2 separate regions of the Homo sapiens genome follow, and region 1 is linked to region 2. Evidence: promoter capture Hi-C in 16 types of primary human blood cells and fetal thymus (Javierre and others, 2016). All regions are on one chromosome and are shown on one strand. The core of a region is centred on a gene start or on the middle of the fragment in contact, and the rest is flanking DNA. Distances in the headings are between cores, read along the strand shown.

The links. The method cuts DNA at HindIII sites, captures the fragments that hold promoters and counts their contacts. A CHiCAGO score of 5 or more calls a contact.
Region 1: a contact is called between a fragment that was not itself captured here and the fragment with the promoter of CNOT4 in region 2, in 1 of 17 cell types (megakaryocytes). The highest score is 5.4, in megakaryocytes.

The regions. Positions count from the first base shown.
Region 1 is chr7:135,444,880-135,451,982 of GRCh38, reverse strand. All of the region lies in intron 1 of CNOT4 (CCR4-NOT transcription complex subunit 4), which reads left to right. It also overlaps the pseudogene SDHDP2. Among named protein-coding and RNA genes, the nearest start is that of CNOT4, 62 kb to the left of the region's middle. The HindIII fragment of the contact is 5,706 bases long and covers 1-4,573 here.
Region 2 is chr7:135,508,176-135,515,291 of GRCh38, reverse strand. CNOT4 (CCR4-NOT transcription complex subunit 4) reads left to right here and starts at 5,190. Exons shown (of 12, transcript NM_001190850.2): 1 at 5,190-5,403. RefSeq lists enhancers at 4,495-4,664, 4,815-4,934, 4,310-5,214, 5,245-5,444, 5,215-6,120 and a silencer at 5,005-5,244. The HindIII fragment of the contact is 7,472 bases long and covers 70-7,116 here.

The DNA.
Region 1 (7,103 bases), core at 471-2,970, 60 kb after region 2:
AGCCACTACACACAACCTGAATCACTGTTTTATTTGTCTCTCTGCCATCCTCCATATACAGTTTTGGGAGCATATAATACTTGCACATGTCTATGGTACAGTGTTGAATAACATAGGCACAGTCTTTGCACTCAAAGGATTCAAAGTTTAATACTCTTTAAAAAGTTGCCTTTTAAAAATTAATTGCTATTATAGAAGAAATACATAAATAGTCTCTTTGCAAAAACACATAGATAAGGTTCAGCTTTCTGATTGCTCCCATTCCCTTCTTTATTTTCCTAAAGGTAGTCACTATTAGCAGTTTATATGTCATTTTTCCCCCTAAGGGTTTGCTTATACTATACATATGTAGAGAACATGTATGATTTCTTTTTTAGTGTAAAAACAGTTGGCTGGGTGTGGTAGCTCATACCTGTAATTCCAGCACTTTGGGAGGTCGAGGCGGGCAGATCACTTGAGTCCAGGAGTTCGAGACCACCCTGTCCAATGTATGAAACCCCATTTCTACTAAAAATACAAAAATTAGCCAGGTGTGGTGGTGCATGCCTGTAATCCCAGCTACTAGGAAATCTGAGGGATGAGAATTGCTTGAACTCGGGAGGTGGATGCTGCAATGAGCCAAGATCATGCCATGCATTCCAGCCTGGGGTACAGAATGAGAATCTCTCGAACAAAAACAAGACAAAACAAAACACAACTGTTATACAGTACCTGCAATTAGTTTTCTTTTCATTCAGTATGTTAGTATGTACAGATTTAGTTCTTTAAAACTGCTTTATTTAATTTTACTGATACACAGTAACTTAGCCTTTCCTATTGATAGACATTGGGAGTCCCAATTTTTTGCTATTGCAAAACATTCCTGCAATTGCTTCTACTCATGCAGATGTGCAACTGTTTCTCTAAGGCTGTTATGCAGAGGTGGGGTTAGTAGATCATAGAGGATTATGTGATTACCCTTGAAATTTTACCATTCATGTTACTCTTTTTTTACCCTCTTTTTCTGGAGGGTCTTATTTTTCTTTTTTGAGTCAGTCTCACTTTGTCACCTAGGCTGGAGTGCAGTGGCGTGATCTCGGCTCACTGCAACCTCTGCCTCCTGGGTTCAAGTGATTCTTAATGCCTTGACCTCCCGACCATTCATGTTACTCTTTAAGTTGGACCTTAGAGCAGTTTATCTTATATCACTCCCCTCCCAATAGACATTTTATCCTTTTTAAATCTAACAAATTAGACAGACATTGTTGTTATTTTATAGAGAAATGTGTGATTCAGTTTACGCACATTTTTACCACATCTTTCCTTACCATGCCTTCAATTTCTGACTGTAGCTGGGCACAGCGGCTCACGCCTGTAATCACAGCACTTTAGGAGGCTGAGGCAGGTGGATCACTTGAGGCCAGGAGTTTGAGAACAGCCTATTCAACATGGTGAAACCCCGTCTGTACCAAAAATACAAAAATTAGCCAGGCGTGGTGGTGTGCACCTGCCTGGTAATCTGGGTCTAAGGATTACTTTTAACCAGAATATCAGCTACTCAGGAGGCTGAGGAAGGAGAATCGCTTGAACCCAGGAGGCGAAGGTTGCAGTGAGCCGAGATCACGCCACTGCACTCCAGCCTGGGTGACAGAGGAGTCCCTGACACAAACAAACAAACAGAAAAAAAAATTTCTGACTGTCCTCCTGGATTATTTTCCTCCTTCTTAAAAAACGTCTTCAGAAGTTTCATTAGTGGAGGTCTTTTAGTGGTAAATTGCCAGTTTTTGTTTATTTAATTTTTAATTTAGCCTCATTTCTCTTTTTGAGTCAGGGTCTTACTATGTTGCCCAGGCTGGCCTTGAACTCCTGGGCTTAAGCGATTCTCCTGCCTCAGTTTCCCAAGTAGCTGGGATTACACGTGTTGGCCACTGTGCCTGACTATTTTTAGCTGTTTGTCATGAAAATTTTTTAAGCATACATGAAAGTAGAACAAATGCTATGATGAAATCCAGTATTTCCATTCCTCAGTTTCCTGTTATTGATACTTTATAATTTCATGTTTAAAGAGGGGTCTCTTTACCTCTCTGTGCCTTCCTTCCTGCTGGAATATCCAATCATGAAGTCTGTCAATACTTTAGAATGTATCTCCTAGAGAAGAGGTTAAAAAAAAAAAAACCCACAATATTCTCATTCCTAACTAAATTAGCAGTAATTCCTTAACATCATCTAACACCTAGTCCATGTCAAAGTCTTTTCAGTTGTCTTTGAAATGTCTTTTTATAATTTTACTCTCATTTTTTCAGGGTTGTTATTTCCTAGGTGCTCAGTTGTAGGTTGACAGTAATTTTCTCTTCATATCTTGAAGATACATTACTGCCTTCTGGCTTCCTTGCTGTTACTTGCTGTTACTCTAATTATTCCATTGGGTGAAGGATTCTTTCTTTATGGCTTCCTTTATGGTTCTTGTTGTCTTTAGTGTTGTGCAATTTTACTACTTTGTATCTGGATGTGGGCTTATTGATCACATTTGGGTATGTTGTACTTTCTGGGTCTAGGGATTACTTTTAACCAATTCTTGGAAATTTGCAGCTAGTGTCTCTTTCTTTTAAAACTTTGAAAAAGGAAATATACATTCAGAAACATATAAAACAGGTACAGTTTCGTTATAAAGTAGATGTCTTTGTAGACTCTTCCGAGGTCAAAAGCAGAATATTTCACGTACCTCAGAATCCCCCTGCCCCATACACCCCTTGCCATTTGAAGTCGTCTCCCTTTCCTTAGAGGTAGTCACTATCATGACTTTTATCACCTTTATGTGCATCCCTAAAATATAGTTTCCTTTGTTGAAATTTATATGACCAGCATCGTATACTTTGTCTTGCTGTTTTTGCTCAAATTATGTTTGGGAGATTCATCTGTGTTACCTGTAGTTCTTCATTTTTATACAGTCATCATTACTTAAGATAGTTTTTCTTTCCCTTTCCCTCTCTCTCCTGTCTGTTTACTACTCCCATTATGTGTATGTTCATGTGCTTATTGATGTTTCATATTTCTCTGAGGCTTTGTATTTTTTTCACTCTTTTTTTTCCTCTCTATTCTTTGGATTGCATCATCTCTATCAATCTGTCTTCAAGTTTGCCAGTTCTTTTTTCTGCCAGTTCAAATGTACTTTTGAGCTCCTCTAGTGATTTTTTCTAGTCAGTGTTCAACTCCAGAATTTCCATTTGGTTCTTTTTAATAATGTCTCTTTATCGATATTGTCCATTTGCTGAGATACTGTCATTATACCTTCCTTCTGCAATTATGGTATCCTTTAGTTCTTTGGACATATTTATAATGGCATTTTGAAGTTGGTTAAATCCATCATCTGGTTGCTCTTGCAGGTAGTGTCCTTTGCCTTTATTTTTCTCTGGTATATGGGTCCTTCCTTCCTTCCTTCCTTCCCTCCCTCCCTCCCTCCCTTTTTTTTTCTTTTTTTGACAGAGTTGCTCTGTCACCCAGGCTGATTCTCTGCTCACCGCAACCTCTGTCTCCTGGGTTCAAGGAGTTCTCCTGCCTCAGCCTCCCTAGTAGCTGGGATTACAGGTGCCCGCCACCACGCCTGGCTAATTTTTTGTATTTTTAGTGGAGATGGAGTTTCACCATGTTGGCCAGGCTGGTCTCGAACTCCTGACCTTGTGATCCACTCATCTCGGCCTCCCAAAGTGCTGGGATTACAGGCGTGAGCCACCACACTCAGCACTTTCCTATTTCTTTACATGGCTCGTAATTTTATGTTGGAAACTGAACATCTTGTATAACATTGCAACAACTCTGGGTACTGATCTTTCAACCCCCTGCTCGTTTCCAGGGCTTGTTACAATTATTTGCTTATTTGTTTAGTGACTTCTGTTGCCCTGTTTCAGTGATTTCTGTTTCCCCCCTTGCAGTGTTTAAGCCTCTGGTGTTGCTCCTTAGGGGCACAGACTTGTGTATGACCACATGGCACCTGGCAGTGTTGGGCTGACAGTGTTTGGCAGAGCTTTCTTCTGTTTCTTTTTCTGACCACACCCAGCTTTTTATCTCCACTGATTTCTGGCTGACTACTCTATTGTCTTTAACAATACTCTAGGACATAAATTGCTTCTTAGCCAGATCCATACGACTCTCGAGGTCACTGCATGTACAATTTGTTCAGACCCAGAGGGGCGCATCCCAGCTGTCTTATTCCCTGGTTCTCACCTGCAAACTAGCTGGCCTACAGTTTAGCCTGTATTTTGAATCTCTTCCAAAATGCCTTTCACTCAACCTTGGGTTTGATATTGCTTTTAGGCTTGAACGTCACACTCTTGCAAATGAAGTCAGTTCCATTGGGAAGAGATTCCCAGCTATCTCTGGGGACATGTTAAATTATATGAGATGCTTTGTATGCTGCTTTTGATTTACATCTTAGAAAAGTAAAATACAAATATTTTACTACATAAATAGCAAAGTGATAGAGAGGTAGAAAGCAGCCCTACATAGTTGATTTTTTTGTATAACAGCAGTTTAACCTTTAATGAGAGAGGCTTTTAGAAGTTGTCAGGTAGATAGATTTCTAAAACATAAGTAAGCTTTTCAGCTTCCTAAAGGTAATACAGTCCTGAGTTCTATAGTATATGAATATTCATGGTAGATATACATTGGTACTTTGGCACCTAATTTAAAAGGGGAAATTAAGTATTAGTGCTGATATTTAAACTTTTTCACTTAGCACACTGTTCATAGCTACTCTTTAGTCTGTTTTTTGTCTTCGTGTAGTTTATGTAAATAACATGCTTTGTGAAATGTGTCTAATACAGAAACAATGGACAACTTAAAGTGCTGTTTCTTATTTTTGAAGGTTGTCATTTATAACAGACATATAACAATTTATTCTTTCTTTTACGTATTCATCAAATGTGTGAATGCTTAGTATTTACTGGAAGCCATGTTGTAGCTGCATGGTATACCGTCATAAATGTGATGCACCGGGTCATTTCTGCCCTCCTGAAGTTTCCATTCTAGTGGGAACAGACTAATTGTGAAGTCCTGAAGTTTCCATTCTAGTGGGAACAGACTAATTATAAAAATATATAGTTTATAATTTTATGTATATATTGCATGTATGGTTTTTATGGAAACTTTTTTTTTCTTTTTCTTTTTTTAATCTTTTTCACTTTTTGATTTCTAGCTAGAACCACCTCCAGAATTTATGGAAACTTTTAAGATGCTATACAATACCAAAGTGTGCATGTGTGTGTGTGTCTGTGTGTGTGTGTGTCTGTGTGTGTATTTCATATCTATAAATAGCTTTCAATTATGTATAATTACAGTGTATATATAACTTTGGTTGTATAGTATATACTTAGGAGTATTATTTCTGTGTAACTGTATTCAGTGGACTTGCACTAGCTACATATTTAAGTTATTAAAAATTCATCTATTAGATTGGCAAAAAATTAAAGGGTTAATTAAATATAGTAATCATTTCAAAATTTTATAAAAGTACTGTTATGTACTATAGTTAAGTGTATACAGCATATTTTTCTTTTTTTGACTTTTTTATTGTGGCAAAATATATGTAACATATTTACCATTTTAACCATTTTCAAATGTACAGTTCAGTGGCATTAAGTACATTCACATTGTTATTTAACTATCACCACTGTCTGTTTCCAGAAATTTTTTCAGCATCTCAAACAGAAACTCTGTTAAATTAAGTAATAACTCCCCATTCTTCTCCCCCAGCCCCCTAGTAACCTTTATTCCACTTTCTGTATCTTTGAATTTGTCTATTCTAGATACCTCATAAAAGTGAGATCAGGCTGGTCATGGTGGCTCATGCCTGTAATCCCAGCACTTTGGGAGCCTGAGGTGGGAGGATCACTTGAGCCCGGAGTTCAAGACCAGCCTTTGCAACACAGGGAGACCCCATCTATATAGATATTTAAAAAATTAGCTGGGTGTGGTGGTGCACACCTGTGGTTCCAGCTACTCAGGTGGCTGAGGTGGGAGGATTTGCTTTATAAAGCCCAGCATTTTGAGGCTGCAGTGAGCTATGATCCCACCACTCACTGCACTGTAGCCTGGGTGAGAGAGTGAGACTGTGTCTCAAAAACAAGAAACCAAAAGTGAAAACATAAAATATTTGTCCTCTTGTTACTGGCTTATTTCACTTAAAGCATAGTGTTTTCAGGGTTCATTCATGTTGTAGCATGTATCAGAATTTGATTCCTTTTGTGACTGAATATAGTCTTTTTTTATTATTATACAACATTTTATTTAAAAAAATTATTTTCATAGAATACATTTTCACATTAGAGATTCCCATTGTGCGAAAATAACAATTTATTACTTATAGTTTTATATTTGTGGACAGATTGTTTTAGAACAAGTAGAACACATTTGAGAAATAAATCTAAGTTTACAATTGGTAATATTTTGATACGTCTACAAGGGGAAACTTGCCCTTAAATGGAACTTCTCTATATTCAGAAGCACTCCAAGCATTTCTCCCTAGGATTTAGAAATTTATAATGTGAGATATCAGCACTTCCTAATTTTAAAATTTCCCTGGTATATGTAACCATCAGTAGGTGGTATCTACTGACTAGAGAGGGAAGTTTTCGAAAATTAATCACTGTCTAATTTTCTACAAAGTTTTTATTCATGAATTAAGAGTATTTCCCTTTGTCCATTATTCCCAGGGCAAATATGGAAGTTTGATCATATACTAATAGTAATAAAGCTGGATTCTCTTTAAGAGATTGATAAATTAAAAGGCAAAAGCTCATATATCATGTTTAGCTATACTGTGAGTCTTATAAGAAGCTGGGAGGCAACCCCATTAACTCACCAGAATACAGAACTCAGTCTCACAATTTCTTAGATATAGTTCCTCTCAAACCTTTTCCTCAAAGATTAAATTCTGAAAATAACCTTGTGATTAAGAGAAGAAGGCTGTCCACCAACAGACTTATCTGTTATTTCTTCCTTATTGTGAGCTTAATGGCATGACAAGCAGAGGCAAAGAGGCTTACATCAGTTCTTCAAAGTATGAAGTCAAAAAGGTCAGAGCTTCCACAGCATGGCAACAGCTTTGCAGATGCCCACATCGTGATAGT
Region 2 (7,116 bases), core at 3,941-6,440:
GAAGCAATTTATAAAGAAAATGTTTTTTTTCTTTTTTAAAAATCAACTTCCTCAGGTTGAAGAAAAGCTTTTGTTTTTGCTTTTTCCATTTTGTTTTGAGACAGGGTCTCTGTTGCCCACGATCACAGCTCACTGCAGAATTGCTGGGTCGACCTCCTAGGCTCAAAGGATCCTCCCACCTCAGCCTCCCAAGTAGCTGGGACTACAGCCATGGGCCACTAAGCCTGGTTAATTTATAAAGCAAATATTATGCTTTCCCTCTATGCCTATCTAATTACAATCCTCCCAGGTAACCAACACACACTAAATGTTTGATGTGTAATGAATCCTTCTATTCTTTTTTCTGTGATTATATAGAAATCTATTTGTATTATTTTGCACTGGTTCTTTTCATTTCTAAAAAATGTATTACATTACACAATATATTACGTTATAATGTATTTATTTATTCTTTACCTGATAAACATATCATGGGCATTCCTCCAGGTCAATATGTCATTCTTTCCCTTTCTTTTTTTCATATAGCCACGTAATATTCCAGAAAATGGAAGCACTGAAATTAAATTTATAACTTTCCCATTGATGGACATTGGGTGGCATTGTCTTTTCAAGAAGTCAGTCAGATCATGACTCTTTCCTCCATAGGCTTTCCTTTTCCTGTGATATAAGAGCTGTGTTTCCTATCTACAAGGGCCTGGATAATCTGGCCCTTGCCTTTCTTTATATTTATTTATTTATTTATTTTTGAGACAGAGTCTCACTCTGTTGCCCAGGCTGGAGTGCAGGGGCGTGTTCTCGACTACTGCAACCTCCACCTTCTGGGCTTAAGCGATTCTTGTGCCTCAGCCTTCCAAGCAGCGGGGACTACAGGCGTGCACCACCATGTCTGGCTAATTTTTTTTTTTTATTTGAGACAGAGTCTTGCTCTGTTGCCCAGGCTAGAGTGCAATGGCACAATCTCAGCTCACTGCAAGCTCCGCCTCCTGGGTTCATGCCATTCTCCTGCCTCAGCCTCCCTAGTAGCTGGGACTACAGGCGCCCACCACCATGTCTGGCTAATTTTTTATGTTTTTTTTTTTAGTAGAGATGGGGTTTCACCGTATTAGCCAGGATGGTCTCGATCTCCTGACCTCGTGATCCGCCCACCTTGGCCTCCCAAAATGCTGGGATTACAGGCGTGAGCCACTGTGCCCAGCAATTTTTGTATTTTTAGTAGATACCAGCTTTCACCATGTTGGCCAGGCTGGTCTTGAACTCCTGACCTCAAACAATCCACCCACCTTGGCCTCCCAAAGTGTTGGGATTACAGGCATGAGCCACTATGCCCGGCCTGGCCCTTGCCTTTCTCTAAATTCACCTCATGCCACCCTTCCCCTTACTCACCATAGTCCATATACACCTTCTGGTGAGGCTTTTTTTGTTTTGTTTTTGTTTTTGTTTTGAGATGAGGTCTCACTCTGTCACCCAGGCTGGAGTGCAGTGGCACAATCTTGGCTCACTGCAGCCCCAACCTCCCAGGCTCAAGCGATCCTCCCACCTCAGCCCCCCTGAGTAGTTGGGACAATAGATGTGTGCCACCACGCCCGGCTTATTTTTTGTATTTTTGGTGGGTTTTGGCAGGTTGCCTAGGCTGGTTTTGGCAGGTTTGGCAGGTTGCCTAGGCTGGTCTCGAACTCCTCGGCTCAAGTCAGCTTGCCTCTGCCTCCCAAAGTGCTGGGATTACAGGCATGAGTCACCATGCCTGGCCATGGTGAGGTTTGTTTGTTTTTTGAGACAGAGTTTCGGTCTTGTTGTCCAGGCTGGAGTGCAGTGGCGTGATCTTGGCTCACTGCAACCTCCACCTCCTGGGTTCAAGCAATTCTCCTGCCTCAGCTTCCTGAGTAGCTGGGATTACAGGCACCTGCCACCACACTTGGCTAATTTTTTTGGTATTTTTAGTAGAGACGGGGTTTCACCATGTTGGCCAGGTTGGTCTTGAACCCCTGACCTCAGGTGATCCACCCGCCTTGGCCTCCCAGAGTGCTGGGATTACAGGTGTGAGCTATCGTGCCCAGCCTGTGGTGAGTGTTTTTTTTAACCACCTCCTGTCTCTGCATATTCTCCACTCTCAACCTGGTAAAGACTACCCTCCTCTCCCCACCAATCTAAATTAGGCTCCCCTCTTAAACTTTCTCATAACATCCTTTATACATCTTCTTAGTACTCATGACCAATTGTAATCATATATATGAAATTCTGTTTATATGCTTGTAGTTATTTATTTATATGATTATTTAATCTCTGCTTTTTCTACTAGGCATTATGCTCTATGAGGACAGGGACCATGTTTTGCTGACCATTGTTTTGCTATACCACCAGCATTGAGCACAATGCCTAAAGGCAAAATAGATTTGTTAAGTGAATAGATAGGTTCCACACTTAGGAATCATTAGGTAAGCAAAGTAATACAACTGAATGTTTTTTGTTTTGTTTTGTTTTGTTTTGAGACAGAGTCTCACTCTGTTGCCCAGGCTGGAGGACAATGACATGATCATGGCTTACTGCGGCCTCAACTTCCAAGCCCAAGTGATCCTCCCACCTGAGCCTCCCAAGTAGCTGGAACCACAGGCAGGCACCACCATACCCAGCTGTTTTTCAAATTTTATCTTTGTAGAGACAGAGTCTCCCTAGGTTGCCCAGGCTAGCCTTGAACTTCTAGCCTCAAACAGTTCTCCCGCCCCAGCCTCCCAAAGTCCTAGGATTACAGGCATGAGTCACCACACCTGGCCAAATTTAATGTTAACTTTTAAAATTATATGAGAATGAAGTGTTACATACATAAGTCTATATGATAGTATATATATACACATATGCATACATAAACATATGAAAACTGGCAATGTAGTATAGTAAAAGGAGTACTGGCCTGAGATGGTAGTGACTCTTACAATTGGTGACCTAGGAACTGTCACCTCCTTACTGTCAGTCTCAATACAGGGGTGGCATTGCCCCCTAGTGTTGGATATTTTATTTATAAGTGCTAGCAAACCATGACTTGACTGTATTTCTAGAATGGTCATGCTGAGCATTTATATATTGAAATACAATTTTATTATAAAATATTTTCTTCATATCATTTATATTATAAATAGCACATCATTTTGATTTCAGATGAAATCATGTATATAGGTAGTTTATATACCTATGAATTTCATTTTAGGCTAACAAAGAGCATATTATAAAAACATTTATTAAAAAAAGGAATGTTGGGTAAGATAAGGTTGCCACTGGATTAGGTGATGCTTAAGATCCCTTCCAGTTTTTACTGTGATGATTCTAATCTTTCATAATGGGAAGGCTTCTTTTTATTTTGTTCTTTTCATTACTTTGTTTATATACTACTATAGAATCAGTAATATATACAAGAACAATAAACACATTTTTAAATAAAAATGTCAACCATATTGAATGTTTAGGCATTTAATTACCTAAAGGGAAATCCAAATAATTTCCCAAGTTTCCTTGCTAGGTAATCATTTCATGATTCTATAATTTCAAACTTTGGGTAAAATGTGACTTCACTACATATTTTAATTTTTACCCAAGTAACTGTTGTCTCTAGGTTTATAGTGAGGAAACTGAAACACAGAAAACCAATGTACCAAAAGAATGAGGCCGGGTGCCCTGGCTCACGTCTGTAATCCCAGTACTTTGGGAGGCCGAGGCAGGCAGATTACCTGAGGTCAGGAGTTCGAGACCAGGCTGACCAACATGGTGAAACCCTGTCTCTACTAAAAATATAAAAATTAGCCTGGCGTGGTGGCACGTGCCTGTAATCCCAGCTACTCGGGAGGCTGAGGCAGGAGAATCACTTGAATCCGGCAGGCGGAGGTCGCAGTGAGCCGAGATCGCGCCACTGCACTCCAGCCTGGGTGACAGAGCTAGACTCCGTCTCAAAAAAAAAAAAAAAGAAAAAACAATGAATTGAGGGCTTATTATGAAATTAAGTTCGTAAATTTAAAACTGCAACCTCTTTCCCTACTCCCCTTCCCTGCTTTAAGTTTTTAAAATCGGTTATGACATACTATGCATTTTAATCACGTATTTTTAAAATAATGCCTCTTCTCTCCTCTTCCTCATCCCAACACATCACTAGAATAGGGACAGGGAATTTTTTCTATTTTGCTCACCATTGTATTCTCAATATATAGAAGAGTACCCGGCAGCTAGGAGGAGCTCATTGAGTATTTGCTGTATGAGTGGGTGAAGAATACATGCAATAAGCAAAAGTTACTGCTTCGAGCGCCACTTCCACCAGAGTTCTGGGATGCAAACGGGGCGACCAGTACATTGACTGACTTTTGTGACTGATGATTCCTCAGTGCTCGTAGGGATTGTGGCTGCATTTATTGTTCTTGGGGATGTGCCGATGTGTGTAGTTTGTAAACTTGCACACAGCTGTGCTGGCTGGACACCGAACTAACACTAATTTGCACCGAGGTCCGCAAATTCTCAAATTCACACCAACAGAAGCACGTTATTGTAAGTGCACGGGTGTTCCGTTCTCTTGGGTAATCTGCACAGAACAATTTAGTGTATGTCTTCACTGGTGATTTTACAGTGAAGAAGGGATCAAGGGTGGTGGCCCCAAATGCGCAAGGACAGGGAAATGAATTAAACAGGCGCCTGTTTCCTCCTTGTTCGCAAACAGACGCCAAGTCTGTATCAAATTCTCACCCTGGATCAAATCCCGCGCTCTTCGTACCCACAACCTGCCTCCACCTCCACCCCGCCCCCTTTAGATATCCCTGGTGGGCGGGGCAGAGAATAAACATTCCGGGCTCCCCGAAAAACTGTTTAGCCTCGCCCCAGTCTTGGGGTAGCACATTTCCGCAAACACCGAGGACACGGAATCACTAGTGAAAACCGCCGACCAAATGACATTGAAGCAGCACACGCGTGCAGAGAAGGAAGCAAAACACGAAGAAAGGCATCAGTCCAGCAGCCACGTGAGGTGGGCGATCCCCTCCGCCCTCTGAGAGAGGACTTCAACTCCCGGCGTGCCCCTGGGAGGTTACCCTCCGAGGACTTCAACTCCCAGGGTGCTGCGGGAGCGGCCACCGCAACCTCCCACTCAGCCGCCCGCCGCTCCTCCCGCCCCTCCCCCGCCCCTCCTGGCCGGATCAGCGTGCGCCTGCGCACGGGAGGCCGGAGGAGTCTTACCCTAATGTAAGATGGTGGCCCGTCTGGCTGTGGAACCCACCGAAAGCTGAGAGTCTCTCTCTCAGCCGTAAAGGTCGGACTCGCTGAAGCAATCAGGCCCGGTTCTGAAGAGTTTTTTCCCCGACGCTCGTTCGGTGGTTTCTTGTGAGGACGCGGCAGCCCGTGGAGTCGGCTGAGGGAAAAGCGAGGCAAGGCAGGCGGGTGAGTCTATGCGGGGCTGGGCTTAGGGGAAACCCGGGGCTGACCGGCTACGAGAGAGCGGAGGCTTCGCTGGGACTGTACAGGCCGCACCCCCCTTTCTCCCCACCCCCCGCCTCATCTTCACCCTCCTCCTCCTTGGTCTTCTTCCTCCTCCTCCTCTTCCTCCCTCTCCCCTTTACGCCACAGCAGTTACCATAAGGAAAAGGGAGCGGGTCAGAAGGCAGCGCGGCGGCAAGCAGCGACTCTCCTTCGAGAATTTCTTTAATTGGGGAGCCGAGGCGGCTTTTGGTCTCCAGCTTTTCCCCCTGCATTTTCACCGGGGCAGGATTCTTAGGTCTCAGCCCTCCTTGTTTCCCCAATCCCCTGTTCCCTGTCTGACGTCCTTTCCCTCTGGCCCCCGTCTCCCAAGACCAAAGCCATCACTTCCACTCTGATCCGTGTTGGCTGCTGCTGCTCATTAATCCCACTGCTCATTGCCCACTCGTCCTGCTGCTTGTTTTTTTGCTCCACTGCTACCACTCTGGAGTTAGCCTTTGCCCCCCTCTGGTGCTTGCAATCAGCCCACAGTGTATCTGCCACACTAGAGCTGCTTCCGATTTGCAGTCTTTCCTTCCACCACATCTGTCATCTTAAAGCTGCCCCTTAAGTATCTAGATTATGCTCCTCCTGCTAACCCACCTGTTTCTCAGCCTTCTTGAGAATTGTCCGTTCCTTCCCTCTTTCCTGTACAGATCCTTTCAATATACACTTCCAGAAAAAGGGAAGCCCCGTGGTGGCCCTTGAAAAGTAAAAGGAAGTTGGGAAGTGAATGAAGTGAGGTAGGATACTATTAAACGTTATGAGTGAAGATCTTTTATTCAGGCTACTCCGGAGAGGACCGTTTTCGTTTTGCTTTCTGTGATCTATTTGTCGCTTATTCGCTCTGTTGTGTTAGGACTTGGCTTTTTTTCTTTTTTTTCGTTTTGGACCGGTTTTATCATGCTACTAAGCGTTCTTTGGATTGCCTCTCCCCAGGACACTTAGTGTGGGCCCTGATTTATACCAATAAATATTAACCCCAGCATTACAAAATAAGATAAATCTGGCGCACATACAGAATTCATCTGTGAACTCCGCTAGCAAATATAAGTGATATTTTGATTACATGTGGGTTATGTGTGGGTTCTGTATTGAGGCTTGATTTTTGACTGAGTTTTATTGATGTTCAGCTTAATTGATGACATTTTATTTATGATTTGAGTGGAAATTTCCTCTCCAGTTAATATCAGATTTTCTTCTTATTTTTGGATTTGGGAAGTTCTCTTGACATTTCTAGGATGATAGTTATCAGAATAAATTGTCTTGTCTTGAAAATCCATTAGTTATGTATGCAAAAGAAAAATCGACATTTTTATATAAACCTAAGTTCCTCGTATTTTTCTCATAGAAAAGAAGGGGGCTGGGAAAAGAATGACAAAGCTGTGCACATACATGCATTTGGTGGAACTCACTGTCATTGTTATCTACAGTAAAAAGCAGAAAACTGGAAGCAAGAGGTGGCTTATGATGTCCATGTTTTGGTGAAAGCAAAATTAAGATGTACTGACTAATGGTAAAATGGGAAGAAGCAGCCCTGGCTATAATCAGACCACTGTGAGATAAAGAATTACCAGAAAAGCAACCAAGATTACATAGTTCAAATACATACATCCCAAGTTTAAACATGACTTACAT